Regions from separate parts of the Homo sapiens genome. Here all the other regions are linked to region 1. Evidence: promoter capture Hi-C in 16 types of primary human blood cells and fetal thymus (Javierre and others, 2016). All regions are on one chromosome and are shown on one strand. The core of a region is centred on a gene start or on the middle of the fragment in contact, and the rest is flanking DNA. Distances in the headings are between cores, read along the strand shown.

Region 1 (3,089 bases), core at 1-2,500:
GGTGCGAGGAGCCCTGTAGGGATGGGGCGGCCCGGGTCAGGCCCAGGCGTGGGCTGGACCCCCCTCAAGGGCCGGCTAGGAGGGAGCGGCCGCGCAGCTGCGGCGCCCCCCCTCCTGCCCCACTTCCTGGGCCCGTGTTTACGGCCCCTGGCGCGACCCCACCCGCGCTTCCTGCCCCCCGCCTCTCCCGGGGGAAGCCGAGCGGGTGGGTGCGCCCGGAGCCGCCCCGTCCCCCGCCACCCCCAGGCAGTGGGGGTGCGTTTTAAGGCCCGCCCTAGATGGGGGGCAGGGTGCGCCCTCTACCGCCCTCCAAAGCGCCGGGAGGGAGTGCACATCCGAGGGGGGTAGAAACGCGCCCTAGGGAGCCCCCTCCCCAAGTTGGGGGGCAGCGATTCCTCCCTGCAAAGTCCTCTTGGGGGAGGGGTCTCTCTCTCGGTGCTCGAAATCTTCCGGGGGGGCCCAACCCCAGATTCCCAGCGCCCTTCCTCGGGGACACGCTCTTCCGGGAGGGGTGCGCCTCGGATCACCCCCCCCACCACAGGCCCCCAAAGGATCCCCGGGCTAGAGGTGCCTCGCGGGGCTTCCGGAGCGCCCCAGGCCCGAGGCCAAGGCCGTCCGAGGCCCTGACTGTCCCGGCGGGTTGGGGGGGGGGGGCGCCAAGCCGGGAGCTGCGGCGGGGGGGCTCGGGGCCCGGAAGCTGGGGTGGATCGGGAACTGGAGGGGGGGTGTCCGGGGGCCGGCGGCAGGAGGGGAGGGGGGTCGCGCCGGGCTGGGAGCTGGAGAGGGAAGACAGGGCCGGGGAGTTGGGGGGGGCGCCGGGCCGGAGGCACCGGGCCTGGGGGTTGGGGGGCGCGGGGCCGGGAGCCGGGGGTCGGGGGCGTAGGGCCCGGATCCGGGGTGGGGGCGCCGGCCGGACGGGCCCCGCTTACCGAATGCCTGCTTTGTGGAAACATCATGTCAATCGCGGCGGGGGGCGCGGGCTGCGCCCCGGCTGTGCGCCCCGGCTCGGGCTGCTGGGGGCGCCGGGCGGCCGCGCCTTTGTCCCGGCGCCGATCGGCAGCTCCCGGGGCCGCCGCCGCCTCCCGCGCCCGGCCTCGCCCGCTTCCTGCGCCCCCTCCCCGCGCGCCCGGCCCCGGCGCGCCCCGGGCCCCGCTTCCTGCGCGCCCGGCGCCCCTCCCCGCCCCTCCCCGCCGCCCGCCTCCCCGCTCCCCGGCCCCACCGCTATTGTCTAATGGCGGCGACGCCGGCAGTGGCCGCGGCTCGGCTGCTGCGGAGGCTTCGGCTCCACCTGCCGCCGCCCGTGCCCCGTGCGCGCCGCCGAGGGGGGGGACGCGCGCGCCCGGGGAGGCCTGCGGATCCCCACGCCGGCCCGCCTCCCCGTGGCCCGCCCGCCGCGGTGACCTTGGGCCCGGCCCGCCCCCGCCCCGGGCAGCGGCCCCCGCCACCCTCTCCTACCCGGCAGCCGGCCGGGCCTCGGTTTCCCCATCTGTCAAAGAAAAGGGACCCGGCTGCCCGCGTCGAAGCCGCCGGCCCTGCTGTGGCACGACCTGGACGCGTGCCACGGACGTGCTCTGTGACCTTGGCTCTGGCTGGGCGGTGGTTCTTGCTGAGCCTTAGTTTCCTTTTCTGCAGAAAGGCAGCGGTAATGCCGCCTTCCTGAGGGAAGCCATTCTTGTGACACATTTATAGAACGCCTACTGTGTGCCAGGCCCCGCTGCTCCAGGGCCCTGGGGTGGGGCGGGGCGGGGGTGGGTCCCTGCCCTGGTGGTGGTGCCTGGAGACAGACAGAGACAAATTCACAAGCTGAATTCCTGGCAGGTCAGATGGTGGGGACAGTTCTGCAGAAAAACCAGCCGGGAGAATGGCAGGGTAGGAAGGTGCAAAGTTAAAGAGGTGGGAGGGAGGATCAGAGACGGCTTCCTCCACCCCTAAAGCGACCTGAAGAAGGAGGGAGAACAGGGGGATGGGGTACAGAGGTAGTCAGAGGCAGGACCAACAGGTGCAAAGGCCCTGGGGCAGGACTGTGCCTGGCAGCAGAGTGCCCGGGGGGAGGTCAGGAAGGCCGGAGGGAGGCAGGGCCGGGGGCTTCGTGCTTTTGTCCAGGGCCCCCCCACCCCACAGCAGGGCTTGTGCTTGGGTTAATATTTACTGCTGCATTTTGAGATTTCTAATCATTTTTGAACAAGGGGCCTTTGAGTTTTCTTTTGCACTGGGCCCTGCTAACTCTGTAGCTGGTGAAGCAGGCCAGTCCAGCAAGGACTTGTGGGTCTTGGGGAGGACTTGGGATTTTGCTCTGAGTGAGGTAGGAGCCCTGGAAGGCTGTGGGAGGAGGAGGGACGGGACCTGGTGGTTGGTTGGTTTGTTTTTTGAGATGGAGTTTCGCTCTTGTTGCCCAGGCTGGAGTACAATGGCACAATCTCAGCTCACCGCATCCTGGGTTCAAGTGATTCCTGCCTCAGCCTCCCGAGTAGCTGGATTACAGGCACGTGCCACCACGCCCCGCTAATTTTGGAGTTTTAGTAGAGACGGGGTTTCTCCATGTTGGTCAGGCTGGTCTTGAACTCCCGACCTCAGATGATCTGCCCGCCTCGGCCTCCCAAAGTGCTGGGATTACAGGCGTGAGCCACCGTGATCAGCTGTTTGTTTGTTTTTGAGATGGAGTCTCACTCTGTTGCCCAGGCTGGAGTGCAGTGATGTGATGTTGGCTGACTGCAGCCTCTGCCACCCGGATTCAAGTGATTCTCCTGCCTCTGCCTCCTGAGTAGCTGGGATTACAGGTGCGCATCACCACGCCTGGCTAATTTTTGTATATTTAGTAGAGACAGGTTTCACCATATTGGCCAGACTGGTCTTGAAATCCTGACATCAGGTGATCCTCCCGCCTCCACCTCCCAGAGTGCAGGGATTACAGGTGTGAGCCACTGCGCCTGGCCCTGGACTTGGGCTTTTGCTCTGAGTGAGGTGGGAATCCTGGAGAGCCGTGGGAAGAGGAGGGATGGGACCTGGTGGCGGTTATTAAAGGATCCCTCTCTCTGCCACGCAGAGAACAGGTCCCAAAGAGGCTACTGAAATAAGGCTATGACATTAAG
Region 2 (2,897 bases), core at 245-2,744, 110 kb before region 1:
TCCTGACCTCAAGTGATCCGCTTGCCTCAGCCTTCATCAATGGATATTAATGAAGCTTAGGATACTCACATTGTGTCAAAGATAAGAGGCAAGGAAACTACAAAGAAATTGGAAGTGATAGGAAACAGTGGAATAACTGTCAGAGAGGAAGCAGTGGGAACAAAAGACAGGAAAGAAAAACATGCCTATTATCAGAGTCCCTGAAGAAGTAAACAGTAGCACAGCTTTTCACCTTACATCATTAAGAAACACATAAATAGGCCGGGCGCGGTGGCTCACGCCTGTAATCCCAGCACTTTGGGATGCCAAGGTGGGCAGATCACCTGAGGTCCAAAGTCCGAGACCACCCTGACAAACATGGAGAAACCCCATCTCTACTAAAAATACAAAAATGAGCTGGACATGGTGGCAAATGCCTGGAACCCCCGCTAATCGGGAGGCTGAGGCAGGAGAATCACTTGAACCCAGGAGGTGGAGGTTGCAGTGAGCCGAGATCATGCCACTGCACTCCAGCCTGGGCAACAAGATCAAAACTCTGTCTCAAAAAAAAAAAAAAAAAAAGGAAAAGAAACACATAAATACTATAATAAATGTAGCAACGTACCTTGCAGAAGATCCAAAGGTTGCTTGTGGAATTGGGCAAGGGAATCTAAATTTCCAGAGTTAGTATGCAGTGGTGGAGAGAGGGTTGTCGGAAATCTAATGTTAAGTTTTAAAGCAGAGGAAACAGTGTGACTTGGTATTTGAGGTGTGTGCGCGCATTTTCTGTTTTCCTACCAGACTCTTCAGTTATGTGCAATTTCTTCTGTTCACTTAGTGTTTCTTAGGGTTGAAACTGAACATAAACAAATATGAAATTCGTGTTATACTCACATTACTCAACATATCAGGTAATTTGTGAAGACAGAGATGTTTCCTGATCAATTGTTCTAGCCGACTGACAGCCAATATCTACATAGAATTATTTCAAAGTCGCAGGGTGCGGTGGCTCACGTCTGTAATCCCAGCACTTTGGGAGGCCGAGTTGGGCGGATCACAAGGTCAGGAGATCAAGACCATCCTGGCTAACATGGTGAAACCCCGTCTCTACTAAAAATACAAAAAATCAGCTGGGCGTGGTGGCGAGTGCCTGTAGTCCCAGCTACTCGGAAGGCTGAGGCAGGAGAATGGCGTGAACCCAGGAGGCGGAGCTTGCGTTGAGCTGAGATCACGCCATTGTACTCTATCCTGGGCAACAGAGCAAAACTCTGTCTCAAAAAAAAAAAAAAAAAAAGAATTATTTCAAAGTCAATTGAGTGGCTGGGGGCAGTGGCTTACGCCTGTAATCCCAGCACTTTGGGAGGCCGAGGCAGGCGGGTCACGAGGTCAGGAGTTCAAGAGTAGCCTGGCCAAGATGGTGAAACCCCATCTCTACTAAAAATACAAAAATTAGCTGGGTGTGGTGGCGGGCACCTGTAGTCCCAGCTACTCGGGAGGGTGAGGCAGGAGAATCACTTGAACCCGGGAGGTGGAGGCTGCAGTGAGCCGAGATCACACCACTGCACTCCAGCCTGGGCGACAGCTCGAGACTCCGTCTCAAAAAAAAAAAAAAAAGTAAATTGAGGACACTGTAACACTCTGCTCTTAAACACCTCCCAAATGCTATTTTAGAGAAAAATCTGTATTTTTATCTAAAAGTCCACACTTCATATTCGCACTTTAGATAGTTAACAATCATTCCTTTATACCTAGCCCATAATCGTATTTCCTTCAATTATACCCCAAATGGTCTTTACAGCTGGTCCTCCGAAGATCCAACCCCAAACCAGGTATTGCATCTTCTTTTATTTTATAGTATTATATGGTCATGTTGAATTTTTCTTTTGAGGTGTAGTCTATGAATTTTTGTGTATGTATAGCGTTAACGGGTGAATTGCGTCCCCACAAATCCGTAAGGTGAAGGCCTAACCCACAGTACCTCAGAAGGTATTTGAAGATAGGCCTTTAAAGAGGCAATTCGATTAAAATGAGATTAAGGTGGGCTCAAATCCAAAAGACTGGCGTGCTATTCATTGCAGGGTGTTGAGCAGCACCCTAGACCTCCTCATCCACTGGATGCCAGTCGCCCCAACCCCATCCCCGGTTGTGACAACCAAGTCTGCAGACATTGTCCAGTGTCCCCTGGGCGTAAAATTTCTCCTCCCCTCTTTGATAATCACTGCTTTAGACTCTATTTGGTCTTAGAGTCTTTTCTCTGAAGTCCATCATTTTATCCGCCGTAACCCTGCTGTCTTCACTTAAGGGGTCCAAGACGTTTACAGGAGGGTGATAATGGTGATGATGAGCTGCCAATAATAATCCACACACAGCACTATTTGACAAATGCAGGTAATGTTATGTATTTTACAGACCTGGAAACTGAGGCACTTAGGGGCTTGGCAACTTGCCTAATATCACCCGAGAGCTGATTAAGGCTTGGGGCCAGGACTGGGACCCCAGGATGAAGCCCAGCTGAGCAGAAAACCTCTGTGCACAGGATGCAGCAATCAAGATAATAAAAATCAACTCCGACTGAGAAAGTATCTGCCTACACATTCATCAGGCTGGGAGGACAGACCCAGATGGTATCAGTTGGAAAATTAACAGAAAACAGTATTTTTGCCAAGGACACCTTTTTCTGAGCCATCAATGTCTTCTAGCTCGCTAAATGCCTTCCTTGCCCATTACAATCATACACAGTGATTGACATTTTATCAGTAAGAATAAACTTCCCTTTTCCGGCCGGAGGGTCTGATTTTCTTGGACACAGAGAATCCGTCTCCATTTCCAACCCAGGTGCAGGGCTCTGATAAGCGGTTTCCGGACATAACAATCTACAGCGGTCTTATCTTGTGGTTCCCAAGGAAACAGGTCCCGGC
Region 3 (3,125 bases), core at 626-3,125, 110 kb after region 1:
CCTGTGCCCTCATGGGACGCCTGTGCCCTCATGGGACGCCTGTGTTCTCATGGGACGCCTGTGTTCTCATGGGACGCCTGTGCCCCTCATGGGACGCCTGTGTTCTCATGGGACGCCTGTGCCCTCATGGGACGCCTGTGTTCTCATGGGACGCCTGTGCCCCTCATGGGACGCCTGTGTTCTCATGGGACGCCTGTGCCCCTCATGGGACACCTGTGCCCTCATGGGACGCCTGTGCCCTCATGGGACGCCTGTGTTCTCATGGGACGCCTGTGCCCCTCATGGGACGCCTGTGCCCTCATGGGACGCCTGTGTTCTCATGGGACGCCTGTGCCCCTCATGGGACACCTGTGTTCTCATGGGACGCCTGTGCCCTCATGGGACGCCTGTGTTCTCATGGGACGCCTGTGCCCCTCATGGGACACCTGTGTTCTCATGGGACGCCTGTGCCCTCATGGGACGCCTGTGTTCTCATGGGACGCCTGTGCCCCTCATGGGACACCTGTGTTCTCACGGGACGCCTGTGCCCTCATGGGACGCCTGTGTTCTCATGGGACGCCTGTGCCCCTCATGGGACGCCTGTGTTCTCATGGGACGCCTGTGCCCCTCATGGGACACCTGTGCCCTCATGGGACGCCTGTGCCCTCATGGGACGCCTGCGTTCTCATGGGACGCCTGCATTCTCATGGGACGCCTGTGCCCTCATGGGACACCTGTGTTCTCATGGGACACCTGTGTTCTCATGGGATGCCTGTGCCCTCATGGGATGCCTGTACCCCTCATGGGACGCCTGTGTTCTCATGGGATGCCTGTACCCTCATGGGACGCCTGTACCCCTCATGGGACATCTGTGCTCTCATGGGATGCCTGTGCCCCTCATGGGATGCCTGTGCCCTCATGGGACGCCTGCATTCTCATGGGACACCTGTGCCCTCATGGGATGCCTGTACCCTCATGGGACGCCTGTGCCCCTCATGGGATGCCTGTGTTCTCATGGGATGCCTGTGCCCCTCATGGGACGCCTGCATTCTCATGGGACACCTGTGCCCTCATGGGATGCCTGTACCCTTCATGGGACGCCTGTGTGTGGTTGCCATGATTACTACCTGAGACTGTCACTACGACAGTTACTATTGTTACTACTTGAGACCATCATTACAAGACTGAACGAAGGGACGAATGTAGAAATGAAAACTTAAGACAGAAGAAACTGTTTTAAAGGAAGGGACCAGGGGAAGAAAAAGAGAGCTCCCTGCTTCTAGTGAGCAAAGGCAGCCCCCCAAGCTTCTACAGCCCTTCGTACTTATTGGGTAGAAAGCAGGGGGAGGAAACGATTGGCCAGCTGCTTGATTGTTCACACGTTCACGTTATTGCTAACAGGTTTCAGATTTGCCTACTTGCAAGAAACACTTGTGCCTGGGGCGTGACTGCCCTCAGCATTCCTTCTGGGCGGCAGACGCAGTTTGTCAGTTTGCCAACAGCCTGCTTTCATGAGAACAGTTTGCTGTTTACTCACGTAGCCTCCAGTGGTATACTGAGTTGATCACAACCCTCATTCTTTCGGCCTTCAACACCTGAGCCCTCACGGGACATCTGTGCCCCTCATGGGACACCTGTGTCCTCGCAGTACACTTGTGACCCTTCCAGGACACCTTACTGGTAGAATTAGTGTAGCTGCCCCCACCCTGAGGCCAAGGACACCATTGTCTCAGGAAGGCTGAAGACCACAGGCTCCTGGGGGGACAGAGGGCAGGTGGGGCCCCTCAGGACCCTCCTTGGTGGTAAGTGGGCCTGGCCTGGGGGTGATTGCAGGCGGGAGGAGGCTCCCAGCAGGGACTTATCCTGGGTCCTACTCACACTTCTGGGGCCTGCATTATTTCCCAAATCACCCCACACCCCAAGGCCTTCTGGATGGGGACGAGTGGGGGGTCACAGACACTGGGGGAGCTGGAGAGCAGAGACCTCACACTCCATCCGTGACAGATGATGTCCAAGCCCCTACATGCCCCAGACCCCAGGGCAAGGCTGAGCCTCCCTCCTCAGACCCCAGGGCAAGGCTGAGCATCCCCACTCAGACCTCAGGGTAGGGCCTCGCCTCCTCCCTTGGACCCCAGGACAGGGCCTCACCTCTCCCCTCAGACCCCAAGGCAGGGCCTCGCCTCCCCCCTCAGACTCAGGACAGGGCCATGCCTCCCCACTCAGACCCCAAGGCAAGGCCAACCCTCACCCCTAGACCCCAGGCAGGTTCAAGCCTCCCCGCTCAAACCTCAGGGCAGGGCATACCTCCCTCCTCAGACCCAGGGCAGGGTGTGTCTCCCCTCTCAGACCACAGCACAGGGCCTCGCATCCCTCCTCAGACCCCAGGACAAGGCTGAGCCTCTCCGCTCAGACCCCAGGGTAAGGTCATGCCTCCCCTCTCAGAACCTAGGGCAAGGCCAACCCTCCCCCCTCAGACCCCAGGCAGGTCCAAGCTTCCCCCTCAGACGCCAGGGCAGAGCCTGCCTCCCTCCTCAGACGCCAGAGCAGGGTGTGTCTCCCACTTAGACCCACAGCCACCTCACCTCAGGCTGAGTCACCGTGAGCCGTTGTCAGCAGGGCCATGGGGATGGGGTGAGCAAGTCCCTACTTTTCCTATGCACCTCAATCCCAGTGGGGGGCTGCCCCAGGGGGCCAGCAGCTCTGCTCCCAGCAGGGTGAGCTCAGGGGCAGGAGAGGCAACCATGAATCCCAAAATGGGCGCCTGGCCCCGAGACCCTACCAGCTTGTCCCTGGGGGTCTCTCTCCCTGGACCTGTGTGTCCTCCCATGGGCAGAAAGTTGGCCTCAGGCCGCCTTTGTGGGCCTCAGTTTTCCCTTCTGTAACGCATCAGGCTCTCTGGGCCTCAGTTTCCCCTTCTGCAACGCATCGGGCTCTCTGGGCCTCAGTTTCCCCTTCTGCAACGCATCGGGCTCTCTGGGCCTCAGTTTCCCCTTCTGCAACGCATCGGGCTCTCTGGGCCTCAGTTTCCCCTTCTGCAACGCCTCGGGCTCTCTGGGCCTCAGTTTCCCCTTCTGCAACGCATCGGGCTCTCTGGGCCTCAGTTTCCCCTTCTGCAACGCCTCGGGCTCTCTGGGCCTCAGTTTCCC

Evidence for each region. Contacts are between HindIII fragments. The CHiCAGO score rates a contact against its expected background, and 5 or more counts as called.
Region 2: a fragment that was not itself captured here is called in contact with the fragment with the promoter of TLE5 in region 1 in 3 of 17 cell types (naive CD8 T cells, total B cells and naive B cells); the score reaches 5.5 in naive CD8 T cells.
Region 3: a fragment that was not itself captured here is called in contact with the fragment with the promoter of TLE5 in region 1 in 6 of 17 cell types (endothelial precursors, naive CD4 T cells, naive CD8 T cells and 3 more); the score reaches 6.3 in endothelial precursors.

The regions. Positions count from the first base shown.
Region 1 is chr19:3,061,245-3,064,333 of GRCh38, forward strand. It overlaps TLE5 (TLE family member 5, transcriptional modulator), which reads right to left and starts at 1,251. Exons shown (of 7, transcript NM_001130.6): 1 at 930-1,251; 2 at 1-13. The coding sequence starts at 956. RefSeq lists silencers at 65-334, 1,257-1,466. The HindIII fragment of the contact is 8,766 bases long and covers 1-3,089 here.
Region 2 is chr19:2,947,308-2,950,204 of GRCh38, forward strand. No RefSeq gene overlaps it. Among named protein-coding and RNA genes, the nearest start is that of ZNF77, 3.8 kb to the left of the region's middle. The HindIII fragment of the contact is 2,883 bases long and covers 54-2,897 here.
Region 3 is chr19:3,174,797-3,177,921 of GRCh38, forward strand. No RefSeq gene overlaps it. Among named protein-coding and RNA genes, the nearest start is that of S1PR4, 2.4 kb to the right of the region's middle. RefSeq lists an enhancer at 1,955-2,837. The HindIII fragment of the contact is 1,187 bases long and covers 1,283-2,469 here.